Linked DNA regions of Homo sapiens: all the other regions are linked to region 1. The links are contacts of gene promoters, found by promoter capture Hi-C in blood cells and fetal thymus (Javierre and others, 2016). All regions are on one chromosome and are shown on one strand. The core of a region is centred on a gene start or on the middle of the fragment in contact, and the rest is flanking DNA. Distances in the headings are between cores, read along the strand shown.

Region 1 (3,087 bases), core at 211-2,710:
AAAAAAAAAAAAAAAAAAAAAAAAAAGCCAGGTTTTGTGGCAAGCACCTGTAGTCCCACCTACCTGGGAGGCTGAGACAGGTGGATTGCTTGAGCCTGGGAGGTTGAGGCTTCAGTGACCTGTGATTATGCCACTACACTCCAGCCTGGGCAGCAAAGTGAGACCCTGCCTCCAAAAAAACAAAGAAAGATGTTTCTGTGACCAGGACACTATAGACCAGATCCTAGAAGGTTGTAGAAATTCACTAAAGTAATGCTTCCTTGTCCTCTTGTGGATGATCAGTAGGCTTTCCCCTGGCAATGACCCTATATCAATAAAAAAACTTTTTCTTTTCTTCTTTTCTATTTTTTCGAGAAAGAGTCTCGCTGCAGCCTCAACCTCCTGTGCTCAAGTGATCCTTTTGCCTCCAGCCTCCCAGGTAGCTAGGACTATAAGCATGTGCCACTATGCCTAGCTAGCTTTTTTTCTTTTTAATTTTTTTGCAGAGGTAGGGTCTCACTATGTTGCCCAGATTGGTCTTGAACTCCTGGTCTCAAGCAATCCTTTTGCCTTGACCTACCAAAGTATTAGTATTACAGGCATGAGCCACCAAGCAAGTCCAGACTTTTCTACTTCAAATTAATATTAGTGGGGAGGGAGGTGTTCATAATTTACCTCTCTTTATTATTTCATTTATTCTAACATTGCTACAGTGACAATTCCATGGACATACACCAGCTACTGGCGGGGAAGATCGTTCAGACCAGAAGTGGTAAGAAATCCTTGAATTTTAAATATGTCATAGGTAGTTCACAAAGAGGACAAAAGATACCATTTACTAAACATTCGCCATCTGTTCTGACATAATATTATCATCATTGTAGTCTCCCACTTCCAGATACACTCATCTGCCTATGTTACACTTGCCTAGTAAAAGCCAGCATGGGTGAATCTTACTATTCAACGGAGCTGAACACTGTGATGGAGAGATCATATAAATAAACTGAATGGCTTATCTCACATCCATAATTAGAAACTTAAAAAGTGCTCTCAGCAGCCCATGCTACTCTGTTCCTCACACTAGTTTTACTTTCACTCTCTGTGATAACTTTTCAATACACCAAGACTTCTCAGCTTGCCCCAAATTCACTGAGACATACTGGCGAACTGCTGGTTCAACCATTTACACATCCACCCACCAGACATAAGAGTGCTCATTTCACTGAGGCTTATTATCAACTTGTAAACGTGGTCAATTCAAGACTTCTTAGAAAGGTCTCAGGTCCAAGCTTTGTCCTGAAAAGATAATTCTGATTGCAGAAACTCCCTCCGTCCAGCAGGAAGCGCCAGCACCCTCTGTCGGGGTTGGGCCGCCACGGAGGCTTCACGTGATCCGGCCGTCTCTGCGCAGGAGTGTGGTCTTGCGGAGATTTGACCTACGTACTTAGCGTCATGACGTAGTACGTAGGGGCTGGCTAGCCGCCATCTTGCTTCTTTTTCTCGCTCGCTCGCTCCCCCTCGGAAAGCTGCGAAAGTGCTTTGGCGGTTTGTCCATCCGCAGCTTCGGCTTTTCCAGTCTGGTGGCCCTTCCGGCCACCCCTTTAACCCCAGCTTTCCCTCCCCCTTCTTTCGATCAGAGATCGGCGGAGACCCTCGAAGTGCGCAAACTTGACACTCACCCTGACCGGTAAGGAAAGCGAGGGTGTGGGGGCCGCGATCAAAGAGGGCCCCATCGGGAACGGCCAGAGTGCGGCCTGGGGCGTGGGAGCGCACCCAGACCCTGGCGCCCGGAGGCTAGGGGGCCGCGTGGAGAGGGCCTTGGGTCCGGGCATTTCCCTTCTGTTTGGTTACCATCATCTCTGTGTCTGGGGAAGTCGGCCTCCAGCTTGGGGAGCGGGAAACCGGAGTCAGACCCGCCCCATGTGGTCTGCAGCGGGAGTTCTGGACCGGTCTGTCTTGCTCCCACCTAGACCCCAGTCCTGGCCCTGCGAGGGGATTACGCATGTTGCCGGGTAAGCGAAGGGGGTTTCCGTCTTCCTGGACTGGCGGACGTGAAGTCTTTTTTTTTTTTTTTTTTTTTTAGTGTCGGGTATGCGTTTCCCCAAACAACTGAAGGACTCAGCCGGGGCTTTCACTGTCTACCTCTTCCTGTGTAGTGAGGGTGGGACTTGCAATGAGCAATGTATGGGAGGGTCTGGTTTAAAGACCTGGTTAGATGAGAGGCTCTTCGGGGAATCAAGACCAACCCTACTTCCGCTAGGGAAGTGCTGCCCAACTCCGGAGGAGGATTTGGGTAGTCTTTTCACACTCTAGGCCGCTCCATCCTCTAACTTGCGTGGTGAATCTCGGTAGCTCCCTGTCTTTGAGATAGCGTTGATATTGGTGGTGTCAGGGTAAAGGCCCCGTTTTAGGACTGAAGAAAAGGGCATGGGGCCACTATAGAGACATTGATAGAGTCTTCCTTCCTTTGCATGAGAGGAGTACCTTTAATTTAAAGGGATGTATGTGTGTTTTGACATTATTTGGGATCTTTTGAGGGTCTGACATGCCTGATGTTTGCTGGCTTATAAAGCTACCTGGATTTCCGCATTGGCTGGTTTTCAGCCTGGGTTCATAGATTCATACCTCGTTAGAGTACTTAGAATTGTACAGTAGGCGGCTCTGCTGTAAGATTTTCATTTGGAATGCACCAGAAGAATCGGAGGATTTTTTGATTGTTGAGTACTTAATAGCTTACTCCTGCAAATAAAAATAATAGGGTGATACTAAGCACCTACCAAGCCTAACCCCACCATTTTTCAAAACTAGATTTCACCTCCCATATTGGTAATTAAGATGCTGCTTTGACTGGAGCCATTTTTAGGTGTGTGTCACAGATGCACTGCAGCATCTTTTCTGGCTCACCCCAAATGCATTGATCCCCTAAAAAATTAGGAATAAATTGAACTTGAATTTTGTCTTTAGCATGTAGTCAAATAGTAATTCTCTCCTTTTCTGTAAGTGGATTTTCAGAATATAGCCTTTTTAAGTGATTGTGTTTGCTCTGCTTAGCTTATGTGTGGCTGTTCTCCATTAGGTGACCTTTTGCTATACACTGAGCACAGTAAT
Region 2 (3,087 bases), core at 373-2,872, 2.5 Mb after region 1:
AAAATTTTCCTTAAGGAGGGGAGATTAATAACAAAATTTTAAATTTTTTTTGTACTTAGATCTCCTATAACCCCATTAGAAATATTTACTAAGAACATAAAGTGACTTTTGTTTCTCATAAATTTTAAGATTTCAATTCAATTAGATAAAGTACCATTTTGAATTTAAGATAACAATATATTTCTAAAGCCCCAAATGGAAATGTCAATCTTAGCAGTAACTCTAAAGTCCAAGTTTATTACCCTTTATTCTAGAAAGAAAAAAAAAAACTAATTTTGTCTCCCTCAGTCAGCCAATTAAAACAATCCAAAAAAGCTTACTAAACAACTGCCTTTGTAACACTGTTCATGTTTTTAGAGGTGATCAGGTATAGGGCCAAGATCAAGGTTTCTAACACTTATTCAACAAGGGATTAAAAGCAGAGTGCCACGCAAATCAAAACTCTAAATATTCTCAAAGATTAGCTGAATAAAATAGTCATAAAGTTAGATTCACAGGGATCAAAGAGCTTCAAATTCTAAAAATCGTTTCCCAGTGTAACTTCAAATAAATCCTTTGTGAATATTCCTAGTTTCTTCTATACATTAAGAAAACCTAAAAGGCAAACAAGTTCTAGATAGGAGACCAAGTATTAGTTGTTCACATTTGTATAGAACATTAAATTTTAGTTCTTATAACCCAATGAAGAAATACAAATGAGTCTAAGAGTTTGAGCAAAACCCTCTGGGGTGATCAAAACAAAACTGCAAACTTCTATGAGTCTCAACTTTTCTTCCATAAAGAGTCCCTGGCAGCATGTCTACTGTACTTAGAGAAGCATGCAAAGAATTAGGTGGTTTTTTATTCCTAACAATCACATCCCAAAGTTTTTTCTGCAATTTCAATTGTACAGAGTACTCTTCCTCGATGTTGGCTCAAATTAGAGACAGAAAGCAGAATGGCGTTTGCTAGGGATTAGGGAAGAGGGGAATACAGAGTAACTGCTTAATGGGTACAGTGTTTCCTTTTGGGGTAATGAACACATTCTGGAATTAGAGCTGGTGGTTGAACAACATTGTGAATGTATAAAGTGCCACCTAAACTGTTTACTTTAAAATGGTTAATGTTATGTGACTTAACCTCAATAAAAAAAATTATGTTAATCTGTAGATAAAACTGACCCCTTTAGAACTCTTTTCTTGCTCAAAAAAAAAAAAAAAAAAAAAAAAAAACTGCTACCATGTTCAAATGCTATTTAGATCTTGGAAATTTTTTAGATAAAATGCACTTATAAGTTAAATTATTACCACATGTGCACAGTAATAATCAGTGAAGGTATACCAGTGTCAGTTTAAAACATTGTTATGCCTGTAATCTCAGCACTTTGGGAGGCAGAAGTGGGAGGATCACCTTGCTCCCAGGAGTTTGAGACCACCCTGGGCAACACAGCAAAATGCTATCTCTATAAAAATAATAAAAATTAAAAAAAGTAGCCAGGTAAGGCGGGAATAACACTTAAACCAAGGAGTTTGAGGCTGAAGTGAGCTATGATAATGCCACTGCACTCCAGCCTGGGTGACAGACCATGAGTGACTCTGTCATTCATTCATAATATATACATACAGCATTGCTAAAATGCTTGATAACTGTCAAAAGAATATTGCTCTGACATACATCTGCAAATAAGTAAGGTGACTTTAAATTTGAGGAAAATTCTTTCCCCAAGCCTCAATCAGGAAAACAATATAAACTAATAAGAAGTATCTAATAAACAAAAAGTAAACAAGAATATTATATAAGTAAACAGGCACAATCCTGACCAAAAATGGACAGAAATAAATATGCTAAAGTTAAGTGTCTGGGGGATGTAGGGCAACATTACTTCAGATTGGTAAATGTCACACTTCAAAAATAGAAGGAATCTACCTTAAGAAACTCTGTAGTAAGAAAACCTCCTTTGTATAAATGCCTGACAAAATTAATCTTTTATCATAACCTCTAAAGCTAGTCCAAATCCAGCCTAGATTCCAGAATTACACAAAAGAAAAAATCTTGGAGACGGTTCTGGGAAAAGGCTGACCAAAATCTGTGACTGTTTTGATACAGGCCAATCTGAGAATTTTAATCCCTCTGAACCCAATCCTGCAGAATACCTGAACCCTGAGCACAGACGGGGCCAAAGCTAAACCAGGTCAGAATACCCTGCCAAGGAACATCCTGATCTGAGGTGTTCACCAAACAGGGATCATTTATCAGTTTATTCTTCACTTTGTTGGATGCTGACCATTTTCAAGATATATGCAAGAGTGGACTGATTAGACCCATCAGAATCCATTTCAAGCCCTAAGATCTGGAGATGAAAAATACTGCAGAATTCTAAATTATCTATGGCTTAAAGAAAAAAAATTATAAATTAAGAACTTCAAATATTAGCTGACCCAACTTTAACATCATTGAATATCTTTAATTATTTAAAAAAATTTATAAAGTATTTCAAAGGCACAATTTAGTAATTGCCTATGTAACAAATTAACCATGAAAACAATTACAGCAGTATGATAAATCTGTCCTATGTAAACAGTATGAGTTTTTATATTTTATAGCATTCAGATATGCTAAAAACAAAAATTTAAGTGTTTCTTTTGTGATTCACATGAACAAATACTTTCTTGGTCTTACAAGTAGATATCTGACAGGATACAAATAATGATAATAGGGTAAGTTCACAGGCAAAAAAAGGAATCTGTCAACACAGAAGATGCTTCAAAGTTTAACTGTGACACATGTGGTAGTGGCAAAGAATCTAATTTGTGTCACAAGATCTGAGTCTGAGTAAGCTCTTTTACCTATTAATTATGTGATCTTTTTGCTGGTTACATAGCTACTCTTAGCTTCACATTCTTCATATGAAAAAATGAGGACAACAGAACTAATACTGCAGCATAATGAGGAAGCTTAAATATTTTTATTCATTCAACAAATATGTTCTGAAAGGCGTTGTGTACAAATTACCCTTTTTTATTTCTTCAAATAAATCAAGCATATATTAACTTTTAATATTACCAAGAAAATATAAATCTAATTCTTAAGCTCTGGTTCCAAAACTTC
Region 3 (3,087 bases), core at 172-2,671, 2.5 Mb after region 1:
GGCATTGACTGAAGCTACAGTACAGAATATCACATCTGACATTTCACTATTAATTTATCCCAATGTCTAAATTCTGGTTAAGAACCACCACTTTCTTAAATCTCTAAACTTTTATCACTAATATTACCATTTGACTTTACTCAGGTTTTTTTTCTTAACAAAGAAATAAAGATCTTATTATCAAAATAAAAAAATTATTTCAGCTAGGTGCTGTGGTTCACGCCTGCAATCTCAGCACTTTTGGGTGGCTGAGGTGGGAGGATCACTTGAGACCAGGAGTTTGAGATCAACCTGGCCAAAAAGGCAAGACCTTGTCTCTATAAGCAAAATAAAAAATGAGCAGAGTGTGGTGGCACGTACTTGTAGTCCCAGCTACTCAGGAGGCTGAGGTGGGAGGTATGCTTGATCCCAGGAGTTCAAGGTTTCAGTGAGCTATGACCACACCACTGCACTGCAGCCTGGGCAACACAGAGAAACCCCATCTCTAAAAAAAAAAACTGTTGGGCGTGGTGGCTCACACCTGTAATCCCAGGACTTTGGGAGGCTGAGGTTGGCAGATCACCTGAGGTCAGGAGTTTGAGACCAGCTTGACCAACATAGAGAAACCCTGTCTCTACTAAAAATACAAAAATTAGCAGGCACATGCCTGTAATCCCAGCTACTCGCGAGGCCAAGGCAGGAGAATCACTTGAACCTGGGAGGCAGAGGTTGCGGTGAGCCGAGATCGTGCCATTGCACTCCAGCCTGGGCAATGAGAGCAAAACTCCACCAAAAAAAAAAAAAAGAGAGAGAGAGAAAGAAAGATATGAATTATAAACAACAAGGCTACTTGCTTGGGTCCACCAGCTAAGTAACTAGTTTGTAGATACCAAACTCCAAGTCTTACAGCTCCCTTAGCTGTTAAATTCAAATGTATGCCTCTGCAAAATAACAAATAACTACATATTGTGAGCATCGATGTTTAAGTATGATTAAAACATTGTCAATGAGCAACTACAGACAAAATTGTGATGACATGATGCATCTGGAAAGACGTAGAACAGCTTTGTTTTCTGAAAATCAATCATGTGTCAGTCACTGTGCTAGGTGTTTTCAGATGTTTCTCTTATTTAAATATCCACAATGTGGACTACCACCAATAACCAACATTTGTGAAGCAAAAACTAGGATATTATACTTTCAGTGCTCTATATACAGTATCTAATTAATGTTCACAGTAACACTGTAATGTAGTTATTATGCCCATTTTAAAGATAAGGAAACCAAAGTACCCAAGTCACAAAGCTAGAAAGTGGCACGACTAAGACTCAAACTCAGGACAGCCAAACTCCCAGGCTGGTACTTTGAAACTCTATAATTTGTGCCACCACACGAATAAAAGTTTATAGTAATTATGGCAAGGGAGCTCTTGGGAGTGACAGAAATGCCTTAAAATTGTATGGTAGTAATGGTTGCACAACTCTGTAAATTTACTAAAAATCATTTGTGTATTTAAAATAAGTGAATTCTATGGTATGTAAATTATACTTCAATAAAGCTGTTAAAATAGTCATTAAGGGCTTTTTAATAGTCTTAGTTTTCAAAAATGTTAAGTAATAATGTAGAAACATAGAAACTATTCGAATCTGTTCTATGAGCACAGCAATAGCCCTATTAAATAGCTAAATTACATTGCTGTGAAGATTTCATTTAAACATATGACACATTTATTACCATCTCCTTTATTATAGGTTCATTTTATATGTTCCTGATTTAGAGAGAGAAAAATGGAAATTAAAATTCAACTATCTACTCTGAGCCAGGCACTCCTCTGAGGCATTACTATGCCCATTTTACAGAAGATAACTTGAGGTTTGGCGGCATTAAGTAACGGCCCCAAATCAATAAACTGTTGAGCTGGGATTAACACCAGGTCTTACATATCTGAAATATAAGTTGGCCTGTGAAAAATGTTTTTATCAAACAAAACCACACTGTCTGTAAGAAGAAAATCTTGGCTCTCTTCCCACTATGCCCGATGAGATGAGATTTTAACTCATTATTCTTGACCTTAACTTAATTTTTCATTTCTCTGGAACATTTCCATAGCAACCAGCATGTAGGGCCACATCAGAGAAGAGAAAATGTTTCACTGCCTTGAAAAATGAAGCTAGAAGCAGGAGATAAAAACACAAAGAAGAAAACTAATGAAGGCCTATTATAACACTTAATTTTTTAATCCTCAGCAGAGCATCAACTAATTTACAGTGGAAATAGAGTCTAAAATTTGAGGCTCAAGGTTTTTCCAGCAATAATATCTTGTGAACAAAGACCCAGTTTTGATTGTAAAAATACATCTTCCCAAAATGTATGGACTGAATTGTAACCCTATATATACAAAATCCTGGATGTAAATAATTTAATATGATTATGTTAGTACAAATGGATAAATACTTGGGACAGGCATAAAGAGAAGGGCTTCTGAGTTAGAGGGAAAAAATAGCTTGAAAAATAGAACTTGATAAAGAAAGGTGGAGGAAAGTTCAAGGGGTTAATTCAGGTTGCTTACTTTTTCAGCGTTCAGAGGCAAAAAGAAAAATTTCTATCTCCAACCTAATACCAGATTGAGGAGAAGTAGTAAGAAAGGACAAAATCATTCATGGAGAAGCCGCCTGACCTGAGTTTGAAACAGAGTGCCTGAGAAAGTAAGACAGTCTTTAACTTTACGTATGTAGTTTGAATCTCCAGGTTCAAGTTATGCATTATATACAAATGTGCTACACTAAAGAGGGCATTAGCCCTCATTAATTATCAAAGAGGTGGCAGAATGATGTGACCAGACTCAAAGGCATCATCTTTTTTTGTTTTTGTGTTTTTGACACAGATTCTCATTCTGTTGCCCAGGCTGGAGTACAGTGGCACGATTTTGGCTCACTGCAACCTCCACCTCCTAGGTTCAAGCCATTCTCATGCAGAGTAGCTGGGATTACAGATGTGCAACACCATGCCTGGCTAATTTTTGCATTTTTAGTAGAGATGGGGTTTCACCACGTAGGCCAGGTCTCAAACTCCTGGTCTCAAGTGATCAGCCTCAGCCTCCCAAAGTGC
Region 4 (3,087 bases), core at 257-2,756, 2.4 Mb after region 1:
CGGCCGGGCTGATCTGCCGGACCCGCCCCCTCGCGGGGCCCCTCCCTCAGGACCCCGGGAAGGGCGGCCCCCTCCCCCACCGCAGCCGGGACACACCCAGATACGCACACCCACCTCCTGGCAGCTCCCCGCCCGCCGCCGCCTGGAGCCGGTCCCTGGGCGCCGCCCCCTTCCTAGTTCTCACCTGAGCGCTGGCTCCCCCGCCCGACGCCTTGTCCCCATCTTCTCCGAAGTTCCTCAGTGACATTTTGCCCTTTAGCCAGTTCCCCTCTCCCCAGGCTTCCTAACGCAGAAGAAAGCTGCTCAAGTGCTGGAGTGGCCAACCCCATGCCGTTCCCAATTCTCCCTTTTACAGCTCTCACCCCTCCAGTGCCGACGGTAGCGAAAGACTTTCCTCCAGGGGCTTCCTCACTGGGGAATTGCCGGAAAGAGCAAACAAAAAAGGCGCTGGTGTAGGCTCCAAAATAAACACATCTGAATTCATGATGGCATCGACAGAGGCTCTTATTGGATTAAAAGTTTCAAAACAAACAATAACGCTTTGGAAAAAGGTCAGATTGGCTAAAGTTGATTGTTGAAAACAGTGTATACACTTCCCTATTTAATAAGTGTGTTGTTAATGCGGGGCAGTACTGTGAGCTTGGCAGAGTAAGTTCCTGAAGTTTCAGGTGTGGTGTAACTATGTAATATATAGATAAGTGAACGCACATTGGGCTTAAGTAAATGTCTTCCTGTTCGGATTTATACAAACTATTTTCAGTAGTTGAAACTGTACTTTCAACTATCTTGTATACAGCTTCAGGTTTAGTGTTTCAGCCATTTTTTAAAAATATTTTAATGGAAAAATGTTGGCATACTTGGTAAATGCTGTATTTTTTCATCGGATCTGGAGAACTAAGTTTCAGGATGGAAGTATTCATCACCACCTCGGAATTGCCAACTTCGAATTTGGCAGATTTACCCAGCTTTCCTAATTTTGACAACTGAACTTCACATTCTCTGCATCTTGGTTGAATCCTGGCACAGCTGTGGGATTTTTCCTAGAGTTTGCTTCACAGCCCTATAACCAAAGTCTTTTTGTGGGGGGGGCTCTGATTCTTAAGCTTAGAAATATTAGCCTACATTCATGTGGGATATTAGTCCTTTTATAAAATAATAAACATAATTCTTGCAGCAGGTAGTAAAATACTAAGAAGAGGGATATCAAGCTATGTAGAATTGCATTTATTCAGAAAGCTTTCCTCCTCCAGAGAAAAGTTGTAAAGTTATGAGATGTTATATTCAGTCTGCAAGTACCTTATAGTTAACACTTAAAAGTCCTTCCCCCTACCTTCTGTTGAACTTCTGTTTTGATGTTATATAACTTATTAGTAAGGAAAGCATGGTCATAACATGAATTTTTAGGAGTCTAAAGATCACTTTTTAGTTTTAACTATGTCCTCCTGTGAAACTTAAACTGAAAAACCTGTTGGTGATTCTGTTTCCACATCTAAATATAAGGAAGGTATTTCTTTTATCTGGAGATTTTGAAACTTTACCAGATAACTATGTTTAAATACTTTTGAAATGGAAACCATCCGGGAAGTAAAATTATAATTATTAATGAGAATATGGTTTCTTTTTTCAGCAGGGTTGAATGCACCCTCAGGCACGACCATGGAGAAAGGTGGGAACATACAATTGGAGATTCCTGACTTCAGCAACTCTGTCCTGAGCCATCTAAACCAGTTGCGCATGCAGGGCCGTCTCTGTGATATTGTGGTCAATGTGCAAGGACAAGCTTTTCGGGCTCACAAAGTGGTGCTGGCTGCCAGCTCCCCCTATTTCCGGGATCACATGTCCTTGAATGAGATGAGTACAGTCTCCATTTCAGTCATCAAGAACCCTACTGTTTTTGAACAGCTCCTTTCTTTCTGTTACACAGGGCGGATATGCCTGCAACTGGCAGATATCATCAGCTACCTAACAGCTGCCAGTTTTCTGCAAATGCAGCATATTATAGACAAATGTACACAGATCCTGGAGGGCATTCATTTCAAAATTAATGTGGCTGAGGTTGAAGCAGAATTAAGTCAAACAAGGACAAAGCATCAAGAGAGACCTCCAGAGTCTCACAGGGTTACACCAAATCTCAACCGCTCCCTTAGCCCACGACATAATACCCCAAAGGGAAACCGGCGAGGTCAGGTTAGTGCTGTGCTGGATATCAGAGAGCTAAGTCCTCCTGAGGAGTCCACCAGCCCTCAGATCATTGAACCAAGTTCTGATGTAGAGAGCCGGGAGCCCATTCTTCGGATCAACCGAGCAGGACAGTGGTATGTGGAGACAGGAGTGGCGGACCGTGGGGGTCGGAGTGATGATGAAGTTAGAGTTCTTGGAGCAGTACACATCAAAACTGAAAATCTGGAGGAGTGGCTTGGGCCTGAGAATCAGCCTTCTGGAGAAGATGGGAGTAGTGCAGAGGAAGTAACAGCCATGGTGATTGATACCACAGGCCATGGTTCTGTAGGACAGGAAAATTATACTTTAGGGTCTTCAGGAGCCAAGGTGGCTCGGCCAACAAGCAGTGAAGTTGACAGGTAGGTTTGGTTTGGTTTGGTTTTCCCATGTAATGGCTATTGTGTAGACATCACTAAAGTGTCCTCTGTAGTACAGAGAGCATTTTCCTTACCTGATTTTCTTGGTCAAAATAAGTTGATGATGGGGAAACTGGAGGTGTGCCAAAAGACTTGCATTCTTATTTTTTTAAACCAGGAAGCTCCATTCCTGAAGTATTCACAATGTTGTGAGAACTGTGGTAAAGTTAGACACTTCCGTGAATCAGAATAGCATCTGCAGCCACACTAGGATAGGATCAGTAATTGCCAGGGCTTCCTCGGGATTCGAGGCAGGGAGCCGATCATCAGCTGGGAACCTAGCAGCATTGCCCTTCCTTGGTGTGTTATCACACAGGTAGGTGGCCTCCAGGAGTCTCACTTTCCTTTGTAGCACTGCTTGCTTTTCTTTGCCCCCAACTACCAAATTAGAGGAAGTATGGTACCAGCAGTAATTGTTCTTTTCAAATTAGTAAAATAGTAATTCTGAAGA
Region 5 (3,087 bases), core at 329-2,828, 2.3 Mb after region 1:
ATTCAAAATACATAGGTTATATGACCTTCTTAAAGAATATGTCCCAGCCTGGCGTGTAAGCCTGTAATCCCAGCACTTTGGGAGGCCGAGGCGGGCGGATCACGAGGTTAGGAGTTCGAGACCAGCCCAGCCAATATGATGAAACCCCGTCTCTACTAAAAATACAAAAAAAGTTCGCCAGGCGGGGTGATGCTCGTCTGTAATTCTAGCTACTCAGGAGGCTGAGGAAGGAGAATTGCTTGAACCCAGAAGGCAGAGGTTGCAGTGAGCTGAGATTGCGCCACTGCACTCCACTCTGGGCAACAGAACGAGACTCCGTCTCAGGAAAAAAAAAAAAGTTTGTCCCAAGTAGGTGGATATTTTTCCCATAAGTTTAGTGACTGTTTCCTGAACCCAAATCTGAAGAGGGTTTCTGTACCTGTTCCTGATGCTGAGGATAGTATGAGAAATAGAGGTTGGATGTTAAAATGTTGGCATTTCTGGGACCTTTTGATGATTCATAGAGGTATTAAATTAGTAGTTGGAACTCTTCCAGAAAATGTTAGATTGTATCTTTTTTTAGAAAAAGACTATATTGCTATATTTCAAAAATGATCCATCAGATGTTTCTATTATGCTAAAATACTATCTTTGGATTTTACTATATGCAAAGTTTCCAAATTTAATAAAATTTTCTTAAAAGGACTTAAGCCAATGAAATTTCTTTTAATTGTTCATCTATAATAATTTTTCATTAATAAGCCATCTGTATAAGATTAATATACCAGGTAAGTAGACAATAAAAATTGAAACTGAAATAAAAAACAATCTTTTTTTTGGCAATGAGCTACATAGATAACAATTGCATGAATGTAACTAATGAAGGTACATAATTATCATAAAAAACATGAAAAATTATAATTATCATAAAAAAGAAACATGAAAAATTGCATGGATTTTTGTTTGCTTTTTATTTTGTATGCTTCAACTTTGGACTTAGAGATTTTATCTTAAAATGTTTCTTTTCCCCCCCCCCATTAATCAGGCAAAACACATTCTTGGTCCTAAGAGATTTCGATGGGCTTGTTCAAGTTATCATTCCCCAGGATGAGGTAATAGAAAATTTCCTGTTATTATCTAAAAGCTTCTTTGATGCTATTGCTGGGGTAAGCTAAGTAGTTAGATGAATATGTTAGAGGTTTTAAATTCAGAAGTTTATTGTTAATGAAAACTGAAAAATATAAGCAATGTTAAGACATAGCAAAAAGACCAGTGACCCAGTAGAATTAGGAACCCAGGATACGAACAAAAAATTTAGAGGAAAAAAATATATAAATGGCTTGTAGACATAATGAAAGTATGCCCAGCCTCACTCATAGGTAGAGAAATGTGAATTGAAACTGCATGTAATTGTCATTTTTAACACATTAGATTGACAACACACTGTGTTTGGGAAAGCAGGTGCTCAATACCTGGAGGGAGTACAAATTGGCACTAGCTGAAGGGAGAGCAATTTGGCAATATCAAAACTATAAATGCATATATCCTTTGAGCCATTAATTTCACTTCTGGTAAATTATCTTATATCTAGACTTATACAGATATAAAATGACATATGTACAAGGATATTCATTTCAGGATTCTTTTTAACGGAAAAAAATTGGGAACCACCCAGATGTCCTCCAATAAGAGACTGGCTTAAAAAATAATGTATATTCTTACAATACAATACTCTACTCAGCCGTACAAAAAAGAATGAAGAAGTTCTATTCTAATAGGGAAAAAAAAATCCAAGGAATACTGTTAAGTGAAGAACCCTGTATTCTTGAGTATACAAAAGAGCAGCTGTTAAACTCCAGCACTCTAAGTGCTGTCATCTGTATAAAAACTGGGGGAAGGATGCAGAATATACATTCAGTGTGTGTGTGTGTGTGTGTGTGTGTATTTGCTTGTATATATGTTAGGAAATGTCTCTGGAAGGATACCTAAGTATCTGGTAACATTAGGTGCTGCTGGGGGAAGGAACTGAGGGCGTTGAAAACAAGGATAGGAGGGAAGCTTTTTACTATATCTTTTTGTACCCCTTGAATTTGAAGCCATGTGACGGTATTACTGCTCAAAAAAGTATTTAATTTAATTACCATTGAAATTAGATAAAATATGACAGAGTGATATTCTGAAAAAAAAATTTTTTTAATTAAAAAATTCAAGGCCAGGCATGGTGGCTCACACCTGTAATCCCAGCACTCTGGGAGGCCGAGGCCAGCAGATTGAGTACAGGAGTTTGAGACCAGCCTGGGCAACAGTGAAACCTCGTCTCTACTAAAATACAAAAAATTGGCCAGGTGCGGTGGCTCACTCCTGTAATCCCAGCACTTTTGGGAGGCTGAGGCAGGTGGATCTCGAGGTCAGGAGTTTAAGACCAGCCTGACCAACATGGTGAAACCCCGTCTCTACTAAAAATACAAAAATTTAGCCGGGTGTGGTGGCGGGCTCCTGTAACCCCAACTACTCAGGAGGCTGAGGCAAAAGAATCACTTGAACCCAGAGGCAGAGGTTGCAGTGGGCCGAGATCACGCCACTGTACTCCAGCCTAGGCAACAGAGCAAGACTCTATCTCAAAAAAATAATAATAATACAAAAAATTAGCTGGGTGTGGTGGCATGTGCCTGTAGTCCCAGCTACTTGGGAGGCTGAGTTGGGAGAATCACCTGAGCCCAGGAGGTTCAGGCTGAAGTGAGCCAAAATTGCACCACTGCACTCCAGAGTGCACACCAGAGTGATACCCTGTGTCAAAAAAAAAAATTAAAATTAAAGAATTAGATAAAATAAAGAACTTCCATCATACTTACTGGGCAAAGTTGGTTTCTATTGCAATTTTTACTAACGCTTGTATGCCTAAGAAAAATATTATTTATTCAGCTCTTAAGTTTTGAAATAAATAAAGAGCAATGAATTATCTTTTAGGGATCAACATCCAGAGATGAGTATAGCTAACCCTGGAGAACTCCTTTGACTCTGACCCATTATTGCTATGGGATTTAACTGCCCCTAAGACTAACCCTGGAGACAATTGCTTTTCAAGTATGTGGGACTTGTTTGCACTAA
Region 6 (3,087 bases), core at 414-2,913, 2.2 Mb after region 1:
CCATCTTGCCTTTAGCTTTCAGTCTGTCCTTAATTATTCCTGGGCTTAAGCCAAGATAACTTTGGGAGACATTTAGTTTAATAGTTTAAATAATTACAGTCCTTCCCCAAAACTCAATTGCCTTTGTAAAGCTAATGAGAGACCACCAGACAACGGGGATAGATGAGCCTGAATTCTGTTAAGTGTAGACATAAGTGATTGCCAGCCATTATTCCAGAGGTCACAAGATATGCAACTTCCCCAATTACTCCTACAGATAACATCACTATTGTAGAATCTAGGATTGGCCTTTTTGGGTATATTTTTAAGTTTTTTGCATGTTTGACTACTGATGGCTCCACCTGGACCCACCAACTGTTCCTGTGGCTCCACCCAGAAACAACTCAGTAGGCAGGAGGACCATCTCCCATACCCCTATGACTGCACCAGTCAGCAGCAAGCACCCATTGCCTAGCCACCCCTACCCCTTTCCCCAGACTACCTTTGAAAAGAAACCTAGCCCCCAAATGCTCCAGGAGGCCGATTTGAGTAATAATATAACTGATTTGAGTAATAATAAAACTTCTTCCATTTTTCCACTCGATGTTGTGTAAAACTCTTTCTCCATTGCAATCCCTATACCTTGATAAATCATCTGTATCTGGGCAGCAGGCAAGAAGAATCCACTGGGCCACTATATCTGGATCTAAAGGCCATGTATTTTCCACTACAAGCTAATTAACAAGAGGTATCCTTTCCCCTCAGAAACAACTGGACACACCTGTGTAGATTCTACATAAAGAACAGCTAAAGAAAATCTGGTTAATACTTAGCCTAGTATACTTACCAGGAAATCAGCAACAGTCTTTCTCTGATATTCCTGAAATTGTAATCCCCACCTTACACTTGTATCACTTGTTTTCTAAATATTAATATACGGTAAAAATCAGGTGGCTGTGTGCTATGGGAAAATCTGGAGGAAAAGATAATTTTAAAAATATACTTTTTTGGCTCTGCTTGCTACTGAAAAAAAATTTTTTTAAGAAAATATACTCTTCCCTCCTTAACATTAAAGTGAATCCACAGAAGATGTGTTTGGTGAAGTGTCTGGTGGTGAATACTAAGTAGAAAGGGCAGACTAACACAGCCTTAGAGCCTGGATAAAATCCTGGTGTCCTGAAAGTTTGACCGTGGGAAATCTGGAGGATAAGGTCTATCTCTGGTCTGTCTATCTAACTTCTGCACCTTGCACATAGTAGAGGCCTGACAGATACATGCCAACCCATGTGTGCATGCAATAATTCAATCCACAATTAGGAACATTGTGCCAAAAGGAGACCCACCAACTAAAAAGAAATACAAATTCTTAGCTTTCTGTGACTACCCTTTACTGCCTTTGCTGGCGAAAACAAAGAAGAAAAGAGGAGGCTTCAGTATTCAAATACTGCCAGTTCCGCAGTGAATTCTAAAAATGGTTACTCTTGGGATACAAGGAACCCCCACGAGGATAAACAACCTCTGAGGTTACCTGAATGCCCCAGCAAAGGGCACGACTACTTCCGGAGCCGCACCGGAACCCCTTGGCGGATTATGTGGGTTCCTGCGGGAACGATTTAAGAATAGGACTACTTCCTGCTTCTGGATATGGGCCGGTGAAGGGAAAGGAAATAGCTCTACGAGCGGCATCCTGCCTGCGTTAGCGGCGGTGGAGGAGGAGGCAGAGAGGAGTGGAGGGCGGAGTAGACGGAGGAGGCTGCTGCAGAGAAGAAAGTGTCAGAGCCGGTAAGTGAGCCAGTCACCTTAGAGCAGGGGACAGCGGACAGCGCCCCAGGGCTCGCTTCGCAGATATGTGGTCCCAAGTTGCTGAGCTGCCCCATGGGGTCAGGTCGGTCGCCTGTCAGTCGGCGCCGAGAAGAGACTGTTGGGGCGCTGGGGCCGGGCCTCGCGGAGCGCCAGAGTGCGCTCTCGCTGGCTGACAGCCTATCTCGGGAGCCAGAGGAGGCCCCGGGCTTTGTCCTGCCTGGTGGTGCTGGGGTTTCGCATCCTGGACAGCTTCCCCAGACAGTGTTTGGAATTCAGGGAAGGAAGAAAGTACGTGCGCCCCCATTTAACCCTCGGGACCTGGCGAAATCCTGCTACGTGGGTAGTGAACATTGTATCGGGGACTGAAGGAAATGCTTGTAAAGAGTGTTAGTCTGGAGCCATACTTTCCCTGCCCTGTTCAAGCTCCCTGGACTGTCGGAAGCGGAGTTGTTTGTAAAGGCAAATGCAGACGCCTCCTCCTCCTGTCACTTCGGGACAAGTTAACAATCTTCAGATTCGTTATTAAAGCCTCGTGTACCCTATGTGATCTATCAGGTTAGTACTGCTGTGGGTATCTGGTGCTTGTTCTGTAAATATACTTGATGTCGAGATCACAGTTAAATATCTCCAAGCACTTTTTGAAGAGAAACAAGACTGACCTAACAGTCGGGACTATTTAGCATACTTTCCCTCACCTTTACTTTAATCGTTTTAGCATGCAGAGTAAGGATGGTAATCTTAAATGTACTAGATTAAGTTATTGTGCATCTGCAGAAGGCCTGTGGTATAATAGGATATGAAACTCTTGATAACTGACGAAATGAGTGAAATGATTATATAAAGATTGTTACTGTAAAGATCAGAAATAGCTTTTATTAAGTTCCTGCTTTTCTGTTGTCTTAGGTTCGGCTTTAGAGTGTGGTGAAGGGTACTTTTCATGGTGCATGGAAGGAAAGCCAATGCGCAGGTAGGCATTTAGGAAGAAAACCTTTGGTTTCACTGATTAAAATTCAGCATGTAATAATTTAAATTTTTAAAAAAGAGTTTCAATCTTACTAAATTCTGCTTGGAACTAATGAGTCTTGTTCTACAATAAATCAAAAGTAATATTAAGAATTAATAGCTTTTTAATAGAATAAAATACAGAAGTTGTTTCTGAAAAGTGCTGTGGATTGTATGTAGTGCTAAACACTTAAATTTTCCTTTTTTCATGTTTTTTACAGTAAATAATCATTAAGTTCATTATGATACTATATGGATTTATTATAATCTTCAGTTCCCTATAAAATGTAGAGGATTCTGTTC
Region 7 (3,087 bases), core at 324-2,823, 2.1 Mb before region 1:
GATAAATTTGATAAATGCTGTATTAAAAGAGAGGCTATACTATGGGACCTCTCAGAGTCCTATAGTATAACTTTAATACTAATGTACATTGAAACTCTGTAGAGATGCAGTATGCAACATTGCCCACACTTATTTGACCAGGGATCTCTATCCATAGAGCCTGTGGTAAGAAGAATGCTTAGATTCCACTTCAGTAAATCTCGATGTTACTCTTAAGTCCATTGTATGTAACTTATTTTACTAATTTAATAATAACTAAACTTTATTAGGTGATATGGGTGACATTTAAAAAGACTCTTGATTTAAAATTACCACATGACAATCCCTAATTTGTTTAACTGTATCATAGCTGAATTTGTATATGTTCTGGAAAGTCTTTCAGACTATAACCAAGTTAGGAATTAATGATTTAGGGTAGAGGAAAAAAAATAAAGCAGTTTTTAAATGGGTTAGTTTTTGGATGTTAAAAATGAAACACTCTAGGTAGTGTATTAACAGACTAATGAGCTTCAGTAAGCATTTATTCATTTTCTCTGTGACAAGGACCATTTTATTAGTTCATGACACAAAGATTAGGAGGCGGTCCATACCCTGAAGAGCTCCCAACAGTCTAGTCTACAAGAGAAACAAATTATTTTTAAAATATATACTACCATGTTTGCATTACTCTGAAAGCACCAAGGGATGGGAGGAGGATGAGGTTAAGTGCTTTGTCCAAGGTCACACAATACATGGCAGTAGGGACTTAAGTTATTTTAACTCAGGCTCTAGTGAGTTAGATTTCTTTTCACTACCCCATTCTGCTGACTTAGAGTACCTCTCATCATAGATTGAAGTTTTATGAATAAAAGAGAAATATTTGTTCAATGACAGACAATAAATTTTTTTTTGCCTCAATATTCTAGAGCAAGGGTTGGCAAATTGTGGCCCTCAGCCTCCTGAGAATATCTGCAATCAGTTTGATAATAGTGGACATTAACACTATTTAAGCCAAACATTATCCTGAATTAAAAAAAAATCTGTTCTTCCCATTATTAGACCTATGTTATCAAAAAATTGTTTTCAATTATTGTTGTTATAGTTTGAATTTCATCAATAAATTTTTTTTCTCTTATTAAATACTTACATGGTATCCTCAATTTTACCTTTTGGTTCACAAAGCCTAAAATATTTACTCTCTGGTCCTTTACAGAAAAAGTTTGCCAGCTCCCATCCTAGAATGTTAGACTAGTGACCTTCTTTGTTCTTTCCCTACATTTCACCAATCCTGGTAGGCAATACGAATGAGCAAACCTTAGATATGTTTTAATTCATTGATAATTGATCACAGGTGGAAGTAATGATGATGAATAATTTAAGGATTGTTTTGTTGGTTCCCTTCAAATAGTGGGGAAGAATAAGGATTGGTGTTTTTCTTGACTTAAGCGTTACTCATAATTATGGAGCTGTTACCATAGGTCCTTGTCTTCCCAATTGAGAGAAGGTAATTATTCGTAAATGTGTCCTGGATTGTGCCTACTGCATATGTAATAAAGGTTTCTAGGTATGTCACAAGGAAAAATCGAATTACGAAAGTTACCAGGTGAGAAAATGTTAAGCCCTGGCTCTTACGGCCTGTTTACCTATGCACATTAGCTAGAATCATAGTTATTACTGAGCGGGAGCTCTCACGTAATATATAATACAACTTTGATATTCATAAATGCTTGAGTAAGTAGAACAGTTTAAATAAAGTTAAGAGTAAATTGGGGTGGAAACAAGTTGGTTGAACTTCTTGATTTTCCAACAAGGTATTTTGTTCAAAAAGAGATTTCTGTTAAATACCTATTAATGGTTCTTTGCCTTTTAAATTTAACTTTAATCATTTTGTAATTTGTTCTTGAATCTCTGTTACTTAAAATTCCAACTCAAAAATGTTACAGCTTGCCTAGAAATTTTATTTGACCATAATGGAAGTATCACACCTGTTTTTTATTTCCTCAGCCTCAGTGGGCCTGAACCATGGCTGTAGTGCGTGTTTTTATTGTTGATGGTTTTTATTAATTTATAGTTAATACATGATTCTGTGTTACTTCTTAAATGCCAGAATGTCTTATTGACAAGATTAGACAAGTTAGTTAAGTTTAGACAAACTTAAAATCAGATTTTAAGAATACAGGTAGCTGGGTGTGATGGCTCACATCTGTAATCCAAGCACTTTGGGAGGCTGAGGCCAGAGAATTGCTTGAGCCTAGGATTTCAAGACCATTCTGGACAACATGATGAAACCCTGTCTCTACAAAAAAAAAAAAAAATACAAAAAAAATACAAAAAATTATTTGGTCATGGTGGCACATGCCTGTAGTCCCATCTACTTGGGAGGCTGAGGTGGGAGGATCACCTGAGCCCAGGAAGTCAAGGCTGCAGTAAGCTGTTTTTAAATGATTCAGTGGAAGTTCTCCTTGTCAGTGCTACCATGCTTTGTTTTAACTAATTTACCAAACCCAGCATGTTAGGCCTTTATTTCACTTTCTGAAGTATTCCTTTGTTTATCTTTTTAAAAGTAGAGTCAATCCCAAGGCCCAAGGGGTGTTTAAACTTAGTTTACATTTCATATGGAAATGACACGATTTTATTCTAATGTAAAATGTTTTGTAAAATAGAACACATTAATTATACCTCAGCTATGTTTCCACCTCCTGTCTAATTAACATAACTCGAGGTTCCCAGAACATTTCTACATGGGAAAAATTTGAAAAAAGTAAATCTGTTACTTGAATAAATAGTCCTATAGTCTAGCAATATAACTTTAAGATTTACATAACAGAATGAAAGTCAGAATTGTATTTTATGGCATTAAATAAATTAACTTTATTTCTGTCTATATCAACATCCAAAGTTTATTAGGAATTTATTTAAAGAATAATAAAAGCAATAGGACCTAACATTTAATGAGTGCTTACTGTGTCAAATACCATTCTAAACAGTTTACATGTATTCTTATTTATTTTTAAGTACAATATAAATCATAGGTATTGAGCATGCAAATAAATAAATAGTAAGGATATTAGGCATAGATCCACAGATACACTGGTAGAGTGATTTTCG

What was found. Contacts are between HindIII fragments. The CHiCAGO score rates a contact against its expected background, and 5 or more counts as called.
Region 2: a fragment that was not itself captured here is called in contact with the fragment with the promoter of PRRC2C in region 1 in 2 of 17 cell types (fetal thymus and activated CD4 T cells); the score reaches 6.1 in fetal thymus.
Region 3: a fragment that was not itself captured here is called in contact with the fragment with the promoter of PRRC2C in region 1 in 1 of 17 cell types (monocytes); the score reaches 6.6 in monocytes.
Region 4: a fragment that was not itself captured here is called in contact with the fragment with the promoter of PRRC2C in region 1 in 3 of 17 cell types (fetal thymus, naive CD4 T cells and activated CD4 T cells); the score reaches 15.9 in fetal thymus.
Region 5: a contact is called between a fragment that was not itself captured here and the fragment with the promoter of PRRC2C in region 1, in 1 of 17 cell types (fetal thymus). The highest score is 5.7, in fetal thymus.
Region 6: the fragment with the promoter of KLHL20 here is called in contact with the fragment with the promoter of PRRC2C in region 1 in 1 of 17 cell types (naive CD4 T cells); the score reaches 6.1 in naive CD4 T cells.
Region 7: a contact is called between a fragment that was not itself captured here and the fragment with the promoter of PRRC2C in region 1, in 1 of 17 cell types (non-activated CD4 T cells). The highest score is 5.4, in non-activated CD4 T cells.

The regions. Positions count from the first base shown.
Region 1 is chr1:171,484,070-171,487,156 of GRCh38, forward strand. It overlaps PRRC2C (proline rich coiled-coil 2C), which reads left to right and starts at 1,461. Exons shown (of 35, transcript NM_001387844.1): 1 at 1,461-1,666. RefSeq lists enhancers at 1,050-1,359, 1,266-2,014. The HindIII fragment of the contact is 3,004 bases long and covers 1,267-3,087 here.
Region 2 is chr1:174,016,600-174,019,686 of GRCh38, forward strand. All of the region lies in intron 1 of RC3H1 (ring finger and CCCH-type domains 1), which reads right to left. Among named protein-coding and RNA genes, the nearest start is that of RC3H1, 4.2 kb to the right of the region's middle. The HindIII fragment of the contact is 2,618 bases long and covers 314-2,931 here.
Region 3 is chr1:173,998,609-174,001,695 of GRCh38, forward strand. All of the region lies in intron 1 of RC3H1 (ring finger and CCCH-type domains 1), which reads right to left. Among named protein-coding and RNA genes, the nearest start is that of RC3H1, 22 kb to the right of the region's middle. The HindIII fragment of the contact is 4,144 bases long and covers 1-3,087 here.
Region 4 is chr1:173,868,570-173,871,656 of GRCh38, forward strand. ZBTB37 (zinc finger and BTB domain containing 37) reads left to right here. Exons shown (of 5, transcript NM_001122770.3): 2 at 356-551; 3 at 1,631-2,579. The coding sequence starts at 1,657. It also overlaps a transcript of GAS5 not described here. Among named protein-coding and RNA genes, the nearest start is that of ZBTB37, 1.7 kb to the left of the region's middle. RefSeq lists a silencer at 1-255 and enhancers at 1-1,089, 1,604-1,703. The HindIII fragment of the contact is 544 bases long and covers 1,235-1,778 here.
Region 5 is chr1:173,827,309-173,830,395 of GRCh38, forward strand. It overlaps DARS2 (aspartyl-tRNA synthetase 2, mitochondrial), which reads left to right. Exons shown (of 17, transcript NM_018122.5): 3 at 1,025-1,091. Among named protein-coding and RNA genes, the nearest start is that of CENPL, 4.0 kb to the left of the region's middle. The HindIII fragment of the contact is 914 bases long and covers 1,122-2,035 here.
Region 6 is chr1:173,713,318-173,716,404 of GRCh38, forward strand. KLHL20 (kelch like family member 20) reads left to right here and starts at 1,664. Exons shown (of 12, transcript NM_014458.4): 1 at 1,664-1,761; 2 at 2,686-2,749. The coding sequence starts at 2,727. It also overlaps a transcript of ANKRD45 not described here. RefSeq lists enhancers at 1,568-1,757, 1,838-2,207. The HindIII fragment of the contact is 9,904 bases long and covers 1-3,087 here.
Region 7 is chr1:169,371,924-169,375,010 of GRCh38, forward strand. The region is part of intron 2 of BLZF1 (basic leucine zipper nuclear factor 1); the gene reads left to right. Among named protein-coding and RNA genes, the nearest start is that of BLZF1, 5.3 kb to the left of the region's middle. The HindIII fragment of the contact is 3,501 bases long and covers 1-3,087 here.